Regions from separate parts of the Homo sapiens genome. Here regions 1, 2 and 4 are each linked to region 3. The links are contacts of gene promoters, found by promoter capture Hi-C in blood cells and fetal thymus (Javierre and others, 2016). All regions are on one chromosome and are shown on one strand. Each heading gives the region's core, a stretch centred on a gene start or on the middle of the fragment in contact. The rest is flanking DNA. Distances are from core to core; before and after follow the strand shown. Region 1 overlaps GNAI3 (G protein subunit alpha i3). Region 2 overlaps LOC124904258 (a long non-coding RNA gene). Region 3 holds the start of STRIP1 (striatin interacting protein 1). Region 4 overlaps GNAI3 (G protein subunit alpha i3).

Evidence for each region. The method cuts DNA at HindIII sites, captures the fragments that hold promoters and counts their contacts. A CHiCAGO score of 5 or more calls a contact.
Region 1: a fragment that was not itself captured here is called in contact with the fragment with the promoter of STRIP1 in region 3 in 4 of 17 cell types (non-activated CD4 T cells, fetal thymus, activated CD4 T cells and 1 more); the score reaches 6.4 in non-activated CD4 T cells.
Region 2: a contact is called between a fragment that was not itself captured here and the fragment with the promoter of STRIP1 in region 3, in 2 of 17 cell types (total B cells and M0 macrophages). The highest score is 6.4, in total B cells.
Region 4: a fragment that was not itself captured here is called in contact with the fragment with the promoter of STRIP1 in region 3 in 1 of 17 cell types (M2 macrophages); the score reaches 5.4 in M2 macrophages.

The regions. Positions count from the first base shown.
Region 1 is chr1:109,551,632-109,555,416 of GRCh38, reverse strand. All of the region lies in intron 1 of GNAI3 (G protein subunit alpha i3), which reads right to left. Among named protein-coding and RNA genes, the nearest start is that of GNAI3, 4.9 kb to the right of the region's middle. The HindIII fragment of the contact is 1,395 bases long and covers 1,768-3,162 here.
Region 2 is chr1:109,772,979-109,776,715 of GRCh38, reverse strand. It overlaps LOC124904258 (a long non-coding RNA gene), which reads right to left. Exons shown (of 2, transcript XR_007066303.1): 2 at 1,288-1,644. Among named protein-coding and RNA genes, the nearest start is that of EPS8L3, 11 kb to the right of the region's middle. The HindIII fragment of the contact is 6,340 bases long and covers 1-3,737 here.
Region 3 is chr1:110,033,050-110,037,089 of GRCh38, reverse strand. It overlaps STRIP1 (striatin interacting protein 1), which reads right to left and starts at 2,466. Exons shown (of 21, transcript NM_033088.4): 1 at 2,273-2,466. The coding sequence starts at 2,452. LOC105378895 (a long non-coding RNA gene) reads left to right here and starts at 1,651. Exons shown (of 3, transcript XR_947693.3): 1 at 1,651-1,681; 2 at 3,659-3,741. RefSeq lists silencers at 1,872-1,941, 2,182-2,401 and an enhancer at 2,402-2,791. The HindIII fragment of the contact is 6,759 bases long and covers 1,264-4,040 here.
Region 4 is chr1:109,577,775-109,581,603 of GRCh38, reverse strand. GNAI3 (G protein subunit alpha i3) reads right to left here. Exons shown (of 9, transcript NM_006496.4): 4 at 2,243-2,400. Among named protein-coding and RNA genes, the nearest start is that of MIR197, 19 kb to the left of the region's middle. The HindIII fragment of the contact is 1,776 bases long and covers 518-2,293 here.

The sequences.
Region 1 (3,785 bases), core at 1,216-3,715, 480 kb after region 3:
TTGTTTCTTTGTCGAAGATTAGTTGACTGGAAGTTATTTGGCTTTATTTCTGGGCTCTCTATTCTGTTCCATTAGTCTATATGCCTGTTTTTACACCAGTACCATGATGTTTTGGTGATTATGGCCTTACAGTATAGTTCGAAGTCAGGTAATCTAATGCCTCTAGGTTTGTTCTTTTTGCTTAGTCTTGCTTTGGCTATACGGGCTCTTTTTTGGGTCCACATGAATTTTAGGATTGTTTTTTCTAGTTCTGTGAAGAATGATGGTGGTACTTTAATGGGAATTGCATTGAATTTGTAGATATGCTTTTGGCAGTATGGTCATTTTCACAATATTGATTCTACCCATCCATGAGCATGGGACGTGTTTCCATTTGTTTGTATCATCTATGATTTCTGTCAGCCGTGTTTTGTAGTTTTCCTTGTAGAGGTGTTTCACCTTCTTGGTCAAGTATATTCCTAAGTATTGTTTGTTTGTTTGTTTTTTGTTTGCAGCTACTGTAAAAGGTTGAGTTCTTGATTTGATTCTCAGCTTGGTTGCTGTTGGTGTATAGGGCTACTGACTTAAATCTAAGACCCAAAACCATAAAAATTCTAGAAGATAACATTGGAAAAACCCTTCTAGCCATTGGCTTAGGCAAAGACTTCACAACCAAGAACCCAAAAGCAAATGCAAAGACAAAAATAAAAATAAATAAATGGGACTCAACTAAACTAAAAAGCTTCTGAGCAACAAAAGAAATCAGCAGAGTACAGACAACCCAGAGTGGGAGAAAATCTTCACAATCTATACATCTGACAAAGGACTAATATCCAGAATCTACAAGGAAATCAAATCAGCACGAAAAAAACAATCCCATCAAAAAGTGGGCTAAGGACTTGAATAGACAATTCTCACAAGATATACAAATGGCCAGCAAACTTACGAAAACATGCTCAACATCACTAATTATCAGGAACTACAAATCAAAACTACAATGTGATACCACCTTACTCCTGCAATAATGGCCATAATAAAAAAAAAATAGATGTTGGTGTGGATGTGATGAAAAGGGAACACCTTCACGCTGTTGGTGGGAATGTAAACTAGTACAACCACTATGGGAAACAGTGTGTAGGTTCCTTAAAGAACTAAAAGTATATCTACCATTTGATGCACCAATCTCACTCCTGAGTATCTACCCTGAGGAAAGAAGCCATTATACAAAAAAGATACTTGCATACGCATGTTTATAGCAGCACAATTCACAATGGCAAAAATATGGAACCAGCCCAAATGCCCATCAATCAACGAGTGGATAAAGAAAATGTGATATACACACACACACACACACACACCCCTCTACACCCATGGAACACTACTCAGCCATAAAAAGGAATGAAATAATGGCATCTGCAGCAACCTGGATGGAACTGGAGACGATTACTCTAAGTGAAGTAACTCAGGAATGGAAAACCAAACATCGTACGTTCTCACTTGTAAGTGGATGCTAAGCTATGAGGATGCAAAGGCCTAAGAATGATACAACGGACTTTGGGGACTCGGGGGAAAGGGTGGGAAGGTGGTGAGGGATAAAGGACTATACATTGGGTACAGTGTAGACTGCTCAGGTGATGGGTGCACCAAAATCTCAGAAATTGCCACTAAACTTATTCACGTAACCAAACATAACCTGTTCCCCAAAAACCTATTGAAATGTTAAAAAAGTGACTAATGCATTTAAATAAAAGACACAAAGAATGATACATGCTTATAAAACACAAAGCTTTTTTTCCCCGAAACACAGATGCATCCTCACATGAAATGTAACTGGCCATGAACCTTATCCCAAGCAAATGGCAAACATAATAAAGGGTATAATCCCATAGGAGGATATAATGTAATGGCATGTTTACCAAAGGGCAGTCTTATTCTCAATAATAAGCATATTCAGCCAATAATATGCAGCAATTTAAATATAATTAACTGTATAATATAGAGTTTAAGTAAATTAGATGATTCCAGTTCTCTGCATGCAACTGGCTTTTTGCCATACTACCACCAGCAAATCCCAAAGAACAAAGTTTTTTTTTATGTTTTCTCAGAACCTGCTAAAGGAAACTATCAAGAAACAGAAATACAGAGAGCAGATAATTCAATAATTTACAAAACTAAGTATCTTCATTAGTACAGTGATGAGTAAAAAAAAAGGACTAACATTTAATTCCTTTCACCACAAAAGGATATTAAAATTCTTTGAAGATCTTTGAAAATAGTATATTAATATGAAAAATAATAAAACAGCTGTCTGAAAAACCTCTGAAAAAAGTAGCTAAAATGGTAATTCTCACGATCATCATCATCAATAGAAGTGACCACTTACTATTTTTTATTTGCTAGGCACTAATGTGAAGCATTTTACATGCATTATCTCATTTCATATTATGAAACATCATCTCTGCTTTACATATGTAAAAATTATTATTCTTATGGTTAAGTTACTTGCTCTGGGTCTCAGAGCTAATAAGTGGAGGTAGAACTTAAATTCAGTTTTGTGTGAATCCAAAAGCAGTGCTCTTATCCATTATACCAGTGCTTCCCAACCTTTGTCACATGATGGCACACATTAAAAATATTTGTAAGGCTCATTGGGGTGAGCTGAAAGAGCTTGGTGAAAAAAAATTTTCTTGCTTGCCCTGGGGTCAAAAAAAAACAAAAACAAAACCCGCACACACAAAATTTCTTATTATGAAATTATGGCATGAAAAAAATACAAAGTATTACAAATGATATTAAATATTAAATTGGTATAAATTTAGTATTTATACCAAATAAAATTTTTTCAAATTACCAAATTCATGGTAGGGTAGGCACAGTGGCTCACACTGGTAATCCCAGCACTTTGGGAGGCTGAGATGGGAGAATCACATGAGGCCAAGCATTTGAGACCAGCCTGGGCAACATAATGAGACCCCCATCTCTAATTGTTTAAATAGTAAATAACCAAATTACCAAATTCATGAATTATACAAGAGGAAATCATACCAAAGATGTTCAAATGTAATTTCAACTGTTGTAAAAGTTTGAACTTATAAAAATGATTTAAAATTTCAATGCTATAAAAAATTTGTAAACAGCACACCTATATGCCATCCTAAGCACTGGAACATTGGTTGGGAAGCTTTGCATGGTATTTTTTCAATAGAATGTCATAATTAAACACTAATTTGATATACCAAGATCTTCCCAAGAACACTTTATTTTTTTTTTTTTTGAGACAAAGAGTCTCACTTTGTCACCCAGGCTAGAGTGCAGTGGCGTCATCTCTGCTCACTGCAACCTCCACCTCCCGGGTTCAAGCGATTCTCCTGCCTCAGCCTCCCAAGTAGCTGGGACTACAGGTGCACACCACCACGCCCGGCTAATTTTTGTACTTTTAGTAGAGATGGGGTTTCGCCATGTTGGCCAGGCTGGTCTCGAACTCCTGACCTCAGGTGATCCACCAGCCTCGGCCTCCCAAAGTGATGGGATTACAGCCAGGAGCCACCACGCCCAGCCCTTTCCAAGAACATCTAAATGAAATTCAAACCAAAGGTTATCAAAGGAAGAATTACAATACTGAAGTGTCTGTAAATAATCTGGCCCACACTAGCTGCTTAATTTGGTATAATTTCCATAATACCTACAATCTGTAACATTCATTTTGACTTAATAAGAATAGCTAATCTTCATGGAGCTAGTACTATGTGCCAAGCTGTGTTCTGCTTTACATTATTACCATATTTAATCCTCACAGCAATCCTAGG
Region 2 (3,737 bases), core at 915-3,414, 260 kb after region 3:
TTCCACTCTGCTTCAAGACTCAGTCCACCTCCTTGCTGACTGTGCAGCCCCGGCATCCTCACCTTTGTCCCCTGGCACTCATTGCCTAGAGCTCAATCTTGCCACCTGTGGCTTGTGCCCACCCTAGTCTCATCTGAAACTAAGCCAAAGGATGGCATCACATTGGAATGTGCACAAGCTCAGAGTTTCAGCACAGGCCCCAGAACACAGATGGTGCATAATCAGTGCTGGGCGGGAAAGGCGATCGCATTCCAGCACTCATGTTTCCATGCCATCCACCAGCCTTTGGGTAGTCTTCTTGCAGAGGCTGGCAGCGTCCCTTGGGAAGGGAAAAGGATGGTCTCTGTGTGGGTCTCTGACCAGCCTCCAGGCCCCTTGCCTTCCCACTACTGGTGTCCAGGAGTCACTAGTCTGCCAGGGAGAGGCAGGAAAGAGCGGAGAGTCCCCCTAATGTGCAGCCAGGTAGGAGAGAAATTTGTGACCAAGGGATGCTGACCCCTCCTCCAGGAGGTTTCCAGGCCACTGTCTCCATTCCCAGCCACTTCTGCCCTCCTAACTTCTGTTTCCTTTCTACCTTCTTCATTCATTTGTTTACTTGTTCACTGACTCAGCAATCACCTATTAGGTGCCAGGCACTGGCCTGACTGTGGGTATCCCACAAAAAAGACATAAAACCTGCTCAAAGTAACATCACTTAGTGGAAGAGAAAATTAAGGTATTCACCAATGTCTTACATTAAGGTTTTGGACAGAGATATAAGAAGAGGTGTGCTATCTCAGATCACAACCGCCAAACCAGCTGAGGGGTGAGGGGAGTCCAGGGAGCCTTCTAGAGGCAGAGATGTTTGAGGTGAGATGGCAGGGAAGATGAGGCTTTGGCCAAGCAAAGAAAGCAGGGAGGCCGACGCAGCAGCAAGGTGTGGAGAGGCAAAGTGCTGCAGGTGCCTTCAGGGAGCTTTGGGTTGTCTTTGTGTCTGGGTTTGCAGCAGAAGGGTGAGACCTGGTAACCAGCAGAGGCAGAGCTCAAATGCCATGTGCAAAGTCAAGGTGTATGATTTTCTTTTAAAGCATGGGAGCAACTGAAGGATTTATAAGCCAGGGAGTGACATGTGCAGATTGGAATTTTAGAAAACTCTGTTGGGCAGAGCTGGAGAGAGCTCAGAAGGGAGTATCCCCTGGAAAGGAGATGGCAGGAAAGGCTCGGGAGGGTGTGGGGGAATAAGGGGTAAAGGATTGTGGGGGGGGGGGTCTGAATTAAAGCAATAATAACAGAGAAGTAAAACTGTCAGCAGATTCTGGAGATTTAAGGAAGAAAAATAGAGGACTCAATGGCTGCATGTGGGAAGTGGATAGTGGGACCAAAGACTGAGATGGGGACACAGGGGAAGCGCGGTATTGTGGAGACAGCAACACCAGTCTGCAGCATGATGCACTTGAAATGTCTCAGGGACATTGGCCAAAGGTGGGCAAGAGATGGTCACGTGGCTGGATTCAAGATGCAGAGACAGGGTGCTGGAGGCATCAAACACAGGCATCTTCGGCTCCCAGACTGTAGCTGAAGCACTCGCTCAGGGGCAGTAGGCAAGGGAGAGAAGGGAGGTCAAGTGAAAGGTCCCATTCTTTTTAGGAGCTCCATGGCTATTCACTGAGGGTACAGAGACAAGAACAGATGAGAGGCAATGCAGTTAGTGAAAAGGCATTCACGTCAGAGGACATGGGCTCATGACAGCTCTTCTAGATACCTGACCATTTCTTTAAATCTCCAAGCCTCAGTTTCCCCATTCATGAAATGGACCTAATAATACCTACGTTGTAGTATTATTGAAAAGAGGCCGGGAACAGTGACTCATGCCTGTCATGCCAGCAGTTTGGGAGGCCAAGGCAGGAGGATCGTTTGAGGCCAGGAGTTCAAGACTAGCCTAGGCAACATAGCAAGATCCTGTCTCTACAAAAAAGTTTAAAATTAGCTGGGTGTGGTGGTACACCCTTCTAGTCCTAACTACTCAGGAAGCTGAGGTGGAAGGATCACTTGAGCCGTGATCACGTCACTGCACTCCAGCCTGGGTGACAGAGCAAGACGCCATCTCAAAAAAGAAAAGAAAAATAATAACCATAAAGCACATCACATAGCTCCTAGCAGAGAGCTAGTACCATGAACAGCAAGCACGGAGAAGCTACAAGTTTCCAGAATCTTCCAAGTCTGCCAGTGTCCCCACTGGAAGTCCCTTTGGACCTCTCTACCCATCAGTCATATTACCAGCTGGATGAGCAAATGCAGCCTGGACCTAGATGTCTGTGCAGCTCCCTTTCGCTTCCCCGAGTGGCACCGGCTGGGAGACCCCAGCTCTGTGGGCTCTGTCCTTCCCAGGCATGGTGTGGGTGGGTGGATGCCACAGCCCAGCCCTCCTGACGCCCCACCCTCCTGACCTCCTGCCTTGCCCTCAGGACCTTCCCTGGAACTGCAGCTTGCTGGGGGAAGGAAGTGCACAGCTGGAGCCCCTGCCCCTGCCCTGTGCCTGCATCCTGGCGGTGTCCTTCCCAACACTCCACCCAGTAGTCCCAGAGGGATGAGGTGGGCTGGAATGGAAAGTGAGGTTCAGAAGTCAGGGAGCCCATTAGAACCAAACTGCCCAGCTCCTCTCTGCAGCACATGGTTGGGGGGCAGGAGAGAGTGCCCCAATCTGGGACCCACACAGGCAAACTTCAAAGAGGTCATCCAGTGAGGCGGCCACCCTTGGCCTCAGTTTCCTCATCTGTAAAACACCATGTTGGGCCAGGTCATCTCTGAGGTCCCTCCCACCCAGAGTGCAGTTCTACGTTGTCCTCTCCCGTCCTGACTGCGACTCACTATTTCCAGCAGAGGGAGCCGGCACCTCTCCGCAGACAGCCAGGAACCAGTGCCACTCGTCTGGCCAAGGATCTGGAAGCCTTAATAAATGTCTATGTGCTAGGCACGTGGCATGCTTAATGCAATGCCTGGCCAGGGCGTGCGTTCCATAAATAGAGGCCATGGTTGTCTCCATTTCATAGATGAGGAAACTGAGGTTCCAAGAGTTTAATTTGAACCCAGGGGCTCTGGCTCTGATGGTCTCTGGGCAGCTCCAGGAGGGCGTGATACCATCTCTAAATATCTGAAGGGCTTGCCGTCAGAGAGGGGCACATTGCAGGGACGCTCCAGGAATGCAGGTCTGAGCTTGGCCTAAGGAAGAATGTTCTAATGGTCAGAGCTGGCCAGTTGAGACAGGGCCTGCCTTGGCTGGCTGTGAGCACCCTGTCTGAGGGATGGCCTCAGGGAGTCGGGAATTGAGGGATGGTGGGTCTCTCTCGGCCCCGTCCAGTCCAGAGGGCCACATTCTGAGAGGACTGAAGGGCCAGACACAGTGGATGCCTGCCTTGAATCACAGAGGTCACCGTCCTCCCCATGGTCTCCCAGCTGCCCTGGGGCTGGAGAGTCCCGGCATTTTCTCTGAGGGCCTCTGGATCTCAGATCACTGGTGGAGGGGCGGTCCCCTACCCACTGTTCCACAGCTGCCTACATCCACTGGGGACAGTTCTGGAATTCTGGGTAGGCCTCTCAGGGCAAGATCTTTGGTGGCCTATGTTCTTCGCAGGGCGGGACCCCTTCAGCCTGATGGGAAGGTCTGCAGAGCCACAGGCCAAGCTCACCAGCTCCTTCTGGGAGCCCTTTGGTCTGTCTGCATAGGTGTCTATATGGACAAATATTCCTGGCACAGAATC
Region 3 (4,040 bases), core at 1,217-3,716:
GCCGAGGTGGGCGGGTCATTTGAGGTCAGGACTTTGAAACCAGCCTGGCCAACATGGTAAAACCCCGTCTCTAATAAAAATATAAAATTTTTTAAAAATATATTTTTACATGGTGGGGCGTGCCTGTAGTCCCAGCTACTCGGGAGGCTAAGGCAGGAGAATCGCTTGAGCCCCGGAAGTGGAGGTTGCAGTGAGCCAAGATCGCGCCACTACACTCCAGCTTGGGAGACAGACAGAGACTCTGTCTCAAAACAAAACAAAACAAAACAAAAAACATACCCACAAACAAGAACTCCACGTTGTGTTCAGAGATAACACAGTGTACACTTTCACAAGTTACTGAGCTTCGGTTTCTTCATTCATTGAATGGCAATGATGAAAATCTACTTTGAAGATTTTTAAGGACTAATCAAAATTATGTAGTACATAGTGGGCTCTCATCAAATGTGAGCCTCCCTGTCCTCCAGGCATTCACTGATCAGGCTCCCAAACTACCGATTTCAGCTATGACTAAAGAAAGATCATGGCATCAGACTCTCTATAAAGAAATGGATTTAGACAGGTCTCTGCTTAAATGTGTCCATTTGACTGGTCTTTCATGTAATGAGTCTATGAGGAAATTTTTTTTTTTGAGACGGGGAGAGTTTCGCTCTTGTCACCCAGGCTGGAGTGCAATGGTGCAATCTCGGCTCACTGCAAATCTCCACCTCCCAGGTTCAAGCAATTCTCCTGTCTCAGGCTCCTGAGTAGCTGGGATTACAGGCACCAGCCACCACGCCCGGCTAATTTTTGTATTTTTAGTAGAGACAGGGTTTGATCACATTGGCCAGGCTGGACAGGAACTCCTGACCTCAGGTGATCCGCCCGCCTCGGCCTCCCCAAGTGCTGGGATTACAGGCGTGAGCCACTGCACCCGGCCTCTATGTGGAAATTAAAGGGTACAAAGAGAAATTACAATTCGTCAGAGGGTATCTATTTGACCATTCGTAGCTACTCTGGAAAATTTTAAACCATTTTTCAAAATGATAACTCCTCTCATGATGAAGGTAGGTTCACCCCCCTGCACTTTCGTAATCTTCCACTTGAAAAACTGAGTAGTTAACACTGATGTCCGTCATCCCACCATGCCAGGGCTCCTAAATGGTCAGTGTTTTTGTTTTTTTCAAATAATTCACTCCAAGCTCAAATTACGTCTACTTCGGGCTTGCCAATTGTTGACATGTTTTCTCAGGGGTTTAGCCTTGCTAACAAAAAATAAAAGCTTCTGAGGAACTGATTCCACAGGTCTAAAGGTAGTATCATTGCTCTTTGGTATGAATTGGTACATTATGCTTGGACAACTAGGAATTCCCTCTCATTAACTTGGCTGATCAGTTTGGCTGCTGATCAATCTAGGAGATGGCATAGTAAGTGCTCTGGGAACCTGCTCATTAAGAAGCCCTAAAACTCCGCGACATGAGTATCTTCATTCATGAATTCTGCAAAAGGAGGCAGTGGGAGGAATTCCTTAACTTGGGGTGAGGTTACTAGTCAGTTCCAGACTATGCCATCTCCAGAACGGCAGGAACGGCTCACTAGCGAGACAGGAAGGAATGTTGGGTCCTAACGCATGCTTAAAATGTCTATTTCTCATCTTTAACAGTTCAGTATCAGGCGCACTGGGCACAATAGCCCACCACAGGTACTGTTAACCCATGGCCTGATCTGGCTCAGGTCAGAAGAACAGGACATGTTTCCCCCTCCTACTCTACTCTCAATGATAATTAGCTCGGTCCGGCTCTAAGTTCCTTCCAGATCCTCGCCGGCGCCTTCCCTGCCCACACGCGCCTTCCTCTGCGAGCGGCAGGACCCAGGAGCTGGAGCCCGCGTGCCAGGGACAGACGCCCGAGATGATTAGGTTGGGGGCGCGGCAGCCCAGCGCCCTGGAGTGCACCAAGACCCCCGACTCCTCACCCCCGAGCTGGGGCGAGAGCGGCTTCCCCAGGGGCTAGGGCCTCGAGGCCACGCCCACAGTCGGGGCCCAGGGGAGCAAACCAGCAGTCGCCGGCCACGGGAAGCTCTCCCGGGCGGCGGAGCTAGAGCAAGGACTCATGCTCCAGACCCCAGGAGCTGCCAGCCTCGCTTCCTGCTCCTTTCGCTGTATAGTGACAGTTCTCGGCCGGACTCTACCGAGCCCTCCGGGAAGCCCAACCTGGCCCCTAGAGTGGCCCCGGGCCCGGGACCCCCGGCGCCGCCCGACCCGGTGCGAGCCTCGCCCCCCGAAGCTCCTGACCTCTGAGTCTTTGCGCTGGTTGCGGTTGAACTCGCGGGCTTTGCCCCCAGGCAGGAGGCCCGCGGCGGCCCGCGGTGCCCCGGGTGGTGGCTGTGCGGCTGCCGGCGGCGGAGGTGGCGGGGGCTGGGGCTGTTTGTTGTTCACGATCAGTGGGCCCGGACCGCCGACTGCCGGCTCCATCTTGGCTGCTCCACACCCCCAGCTTAACTCGCGCACAGCCGCCGTGATGCAACTCTCGCGTGATTTTCTCCAGGAAATTTCCCTGGCCGCCATATTAAGTGTGGCGGCCAGTGTTAGAAGCCATCTTGGCTGACCAATACCTCGCGATATTCTGTCTGCAGTCCTTCCCTTGTTGATCTTTTTAGTTTTCCACCTTCCTTTCAGTTTCAGTTTAGATGTAATTTTATCTGTGAGGCTTCCCTTAGCTTCTTCAGTCAGTTTAGTTACCCCTCCTTCCTCTAAATCGCTTTGCACTTATAACTCATAGCCTTGTTCAAGGCTTAGGCGGAATTTTGTAATGAACAAAATGGATAGGATCCTAGTCTTCACAGAGTTACCGTTGTGACAAGTGCTTGTCATTCATTCATTCAACAAACATTTAATAAATGTCTCCTGTGCACCAAGCAGTGGGATAAAATGAGGAACAAGTGTCTGCAGTCACGGTACATAACAGTGCTTGGTGGGTCAGACAAACAATAGACAAATATAGAGAAATAAATGCTGAAAAGTGTTAAAGGAAAATTTGTTCATGGCACTAATTAAAGATGGTAAGGCAGACTTTATGTAAGAGAGCCCATGGTGATAGTTACAGGGACCACTACAACCAGATCTTGCAGTGAAGAAGAGGAATTAGACTCAACTCTGACTCCAACAAGATATAGTGGGGATTTATAACCAAAGAGCAGGATGAGGGTCAGTGGACGGAAAACTACTAAGAGAAACATCAAGGATAAGAAGTTTCTTGCTAAACTGACCTAACAGGATTATTGCTGAAAGCAGGACAGGGTGCTAAGATGTTGAGGGTGGTCAGATACCGAGTGCTATGGTTTGACTGTGTCCCCCAAATTCCATACGTTGGAAACTCAATCCTAAAGTTCATATGTTGATGGTATTTGGAGGTGGAGCCTTGAGGGGGTGATTAGGATTAGATAAAATCGTCAGGGTAGGGCCCCTGTGATGGGACTGGTGGCTTTATAAGAAGAGGAAGAGTGATCTGAGCTGGCACACATGCTCTTGCTTTCTCACCGTGAGAGGCTCTCTACCATGCAGTTTAAGAAAGCCCTCACCAAATGCAACCCCTCGACTTTGGGCTCCCCAGACTCCAGAACTGCAAAAAATAACTTTCTTTCCTTTATGAATTACCCAGTGTTTTGTATTCTGTTATAGCAACAAAAAATGGATTAAGACGCCAAGAGTGGAGAGTCCCTGCACAAACTGGATTCAACAAGGACAGAAAGGAAGCCCAAACGGTTAGTCCTAGTAGGCAGAGGACTCACAGGAGCCTGACTAGAGTTTTGGCCAAAGAAGAGAATCTTTGTCAGAAGTAACAAAAATTGAGAGGTTAAAAGGTGGCAGTGGGGCGGGGGGCAGGGGTTGGTGGAGGCGGAGAATGTGGCTATAATATAAGCATGCTGCCCAAGGAAGGCAGGCCTGAGGGTGTGATTTTAGATGAGTTCTGAAAGAAGTGAGGAGAAGCCCTGCAAAGTTCCAGGAAGGGCACACAGACAGATGAAACAGCTAAATGCAAAAGCCCTGATGTTAGTGTCTG
Region 4 (3,829 bases), core at 156-2,655, 450 kb after region 3:
AAAAGTAGGTTTAATTCTACAGAATTAAATTGTGAAGGCCAATTTAAAAAATTAAAACAATAGGAACAGGAAATGTTCTTATTAAAGAAAAATTCCTGAAATGTAATACTAAATCAACTGTGTACTGTATAATATCAAAACCAAACTATACCAAAAGTCCTCAGACAATTAAACTCAATAGGTCATGCGTGTTTAACCATTTGACAGGACATTAGAGAATGGTGTTTGATTAACTAAAATTGAGAGAACTATAGTGAGTAAGAATATTTTCCGTTTTCTTTCAGTAAACAGAAGAGCTGGGGAGGTCTGGGGTTTTTTTTTTTAATCTAAATCAAAAACAAATTGTAAATACCTCCAAAAAAATTAATTTGTTCAGGGAAATAATTAAAAGACTGCTTCAAAACTGTATTCTTTGCTGATTCCAGGCTAGAAAACTGATGAGCAGATGGCACCAATGTAAGTGAATCATTAATGATCTATAAAACCAAATACTATCACTAATGTAAAGAGGCAAGCTTAGATCAACAGTTATGAAAATCTCTATAAGCACATGTAGTTAGAGGATTCAGAGCTTTCTGAATGAAAGATGAAAAAAAGCAATTATAATCTACCTTTGATGACCACTGGTAGAATTATTTAAGCTATCAATACTTGCAACTAAGATGTTATTAAAAGGTAGGCAAGAATCCTGAAACGTTTCTAAAGCCAAGTTCTCATTGAAAGAATAAGCAAGTTTTCAAATACAGTCATGTGCTGCATAACAATGTTTTGGTCAACAACAGACTGTATAAATGTATGCTAGTGATCCTGTAAGATTATAATGGAGCTGAAACACTCCTAGCCCCAGTGACATCATAGCCATTGCATTACCCTTTTATATGTTTAGAGATGCTGAGATACACAAATACTTACCATTATGTTACAATTGCCTACAGTATTTAGTACAATAACATGCTGTACAGGTTCATAGCCTAGGAGCAACAGGCTATACCATATAGCTTAGGTGTGTAGTAGGCTATACCATCTAATTCTGTGTACGCATACTCTACAATGTTCACACAATGACAAATCACCTAATGATGCATTTTTCAGAAAGTATCCCTGTCCTTATGCACAGCCTGACTATATCATTTAATTTCTTCTTGTAACAATTTAAGCTAGAATCATGACGTGAAAAGTAGGAAAACAGTAATATTGGAGAAAAAACTTTAATGCTTAAACGTGCCCTCATCCAGTACAGAGAGAAATACAGATAACAAGTGCTCACCAGGCCCCGCAAAAGTACATTAAAAAAAAATACATTCCGGACCAGGCACGGTGGCTCACGCCTGTAATCCCAGCACTTTGGGAGGCAGAGGTGGGTGGATCACGAGGTCAGGAGATCGAGACCATCCTGGCTAACACGTTGAAACCCCGTCTCTACTAAAAATACAAATTAGCCGGGCATGGTGGCGGGCGCCTGTAGTCCCAGTTACTTGGGAGGCTGAGGCAGGAGAATGGTGTGAACCTGGGAGGTGGAGCTTGCAGTGAGCGGAGATGGAGCCACTGCACTCCAGTCTGGGCGACAGAGCGAGACTCCGTCTCAAAACAAAAAAAATACATTCTGAATCTAGGTTTCATAAATAAGTATATGTAAAAGAGGTAAAATAGGATAACATGTAATAGCTTAATATAAGTATTCATTACAAATTCTCTAAAACTATATTAACACTCAAGATAATATCCTTGACAAAAAGATACTTCAACTTCATTCCATGACTCAACCTTCTCTTTCTATACAAAGTCTACTACTGTGATCTGGCAAAAGGGTTACTAGTGAAGTCCATAGTGCGGCCCAGACACAGAGAGCTGGCTGCATAAAAAGGAATACCACTATTCTAATTTCCCTCTCTAGCTGGCTATCAGTGCCAAGCCCTTACACAGAGGGAACTTATGAGTTGGAACAGATTCAGAACCCAGCCACAACAGATGTCTCTCCTCCTTCACTTGCTTATAATAAAATGCCATGGAACTAATTTTGTGGTGCCAAGTCTCCCATTTACATTCCAAGAGGGAACTTTTTTCTCCAAATCATACAAATGACCAAGGGCTCTATAATCCTAAACTTAGACAATTTTTATAAAGTATCCTATAAACGTCTAAGAGTGTCTATTACTTAAACATTTCCTTAAGTGGGGACTAAAATTTCTGTAGTGTCACCAAGTTATTCTCTGTTATAGTTTCACAGAGAAAAATTACTTACTATGAAGCAGAATCATTGAGCTGATATTCCCTGGATCTGCTGAAGCAAGCTTGTACCCCACCATCTCGCCATAACCGTTTAATCACTCCTGCTAGTTCTGGAGTCATGACTCCTTCTTCAGCACTGCCAGCTAAAACAAATAATTGCCGGGCATCATCCTGAAGAAAGCAGTTAAGAAAGAGACAGATGACTCTCCATTTCTTTAAGACTTGATGACAGTCTCTTTAAAATATAGACACATTACATGTTATGTTAAAAGAGGTGTTGTTACAGAGACCTTTTCTGACAGGCCAGCATGACAGAATTTATAATTAAGTCTTTCCTTATTCTCATTTCACTACAGTTTTAAGTCCAGAACTGAGCTGAGGAATGATTTTACTTCCCCACCACTCCTCCACACACCACCATCCCCAGAAAAGATCATTTCTGGCCAGCCCACAAATCTCCATCCAGATTGCTAATAATTTTTGAGAGAAAAAAACTGGTTTATGAGACAGGATTATGTAAAACATTCCCGTTCTATTAAAGGAAGCCTACACTAAAAATAGAAATAAAAAGACTAGCACATAAGAGGTAAAGTCTAAACACCTCAAAGGGAGTAAAACATTAATCAAGTTTAAGAAAAAAGTATTCTCTTCTTTGCCTTCAGCCCAGACAGTAGAACAAGAAGAGGAGATGGAGGCACTTAAGGTCTAGAAGCCTAATGGGGGAAATAAATCCCTCAGGGAAAGATTCAAACAGTCCCTAGATTTCCCTAAAGGAATAAGGAATAATAATAATGTTCTGAGAGAGGGAAAGGAAGGGAGCAGGAGGAAAAGAAAGTAACCATAACTTCATGAGTCATAGCCATGGTTTTCTTTATTTCTTTTCTTTTTTTTTTTTTTTTTTTTTGAGACGGAGTTTCGCTCTTGTCACTCAGGCTGGAGTGCAATGATGTGATCTCGGCTCCTTGTAACCTCCGCCTCCTGGGTTCTAGCGATTCTCCTGCCTCAGCCTCCCAAGTAGCTGGGATTACAGGCATCTGCCACCATGCCCAGCTAATTTTTCTATTTTTAGTAGAGAGGGGTTTCGCCATGTTGGCCAGGCTGGTCTCGAACACCTGACCTCAGGTGATCCACTCGCCTCAGCCTCCCAAAGTGCTGGGATTACAGGCGTGAGCCACTGGGCCCAGACATAGCCATAGTTTTCTAGGTGGTTATAGTTTTTAAACATAAAATATGTGAGGGAGAGGACAGAAATGGATTATGAGATTTTTATTGTTTTCCTTTATTCTATCCATCCCTACTTGTTGGTTTAAAATTAAACACAGGTCTCACGGGATGATTTTCCCATCCACATCTAATATTTATCTACCTTGAGAGATTCCAAATAACTATAAAAATAAAAAATTTAAAAAGTATATAACGTGTAAAGAAAAAGTAAAGGAGAAAGGGGAGCAATCATTTGTATCTTAAGTAGTCATCAAGACAAATAAACTAACAAGCAAAAGTCATTTCAGACCACAGGTGAACTCACAACCTAAAACTCCAAAGACTTGTGAATTACCAGAACTTGTGCATCCACCTTAGCAAAACAAAACCATCCATG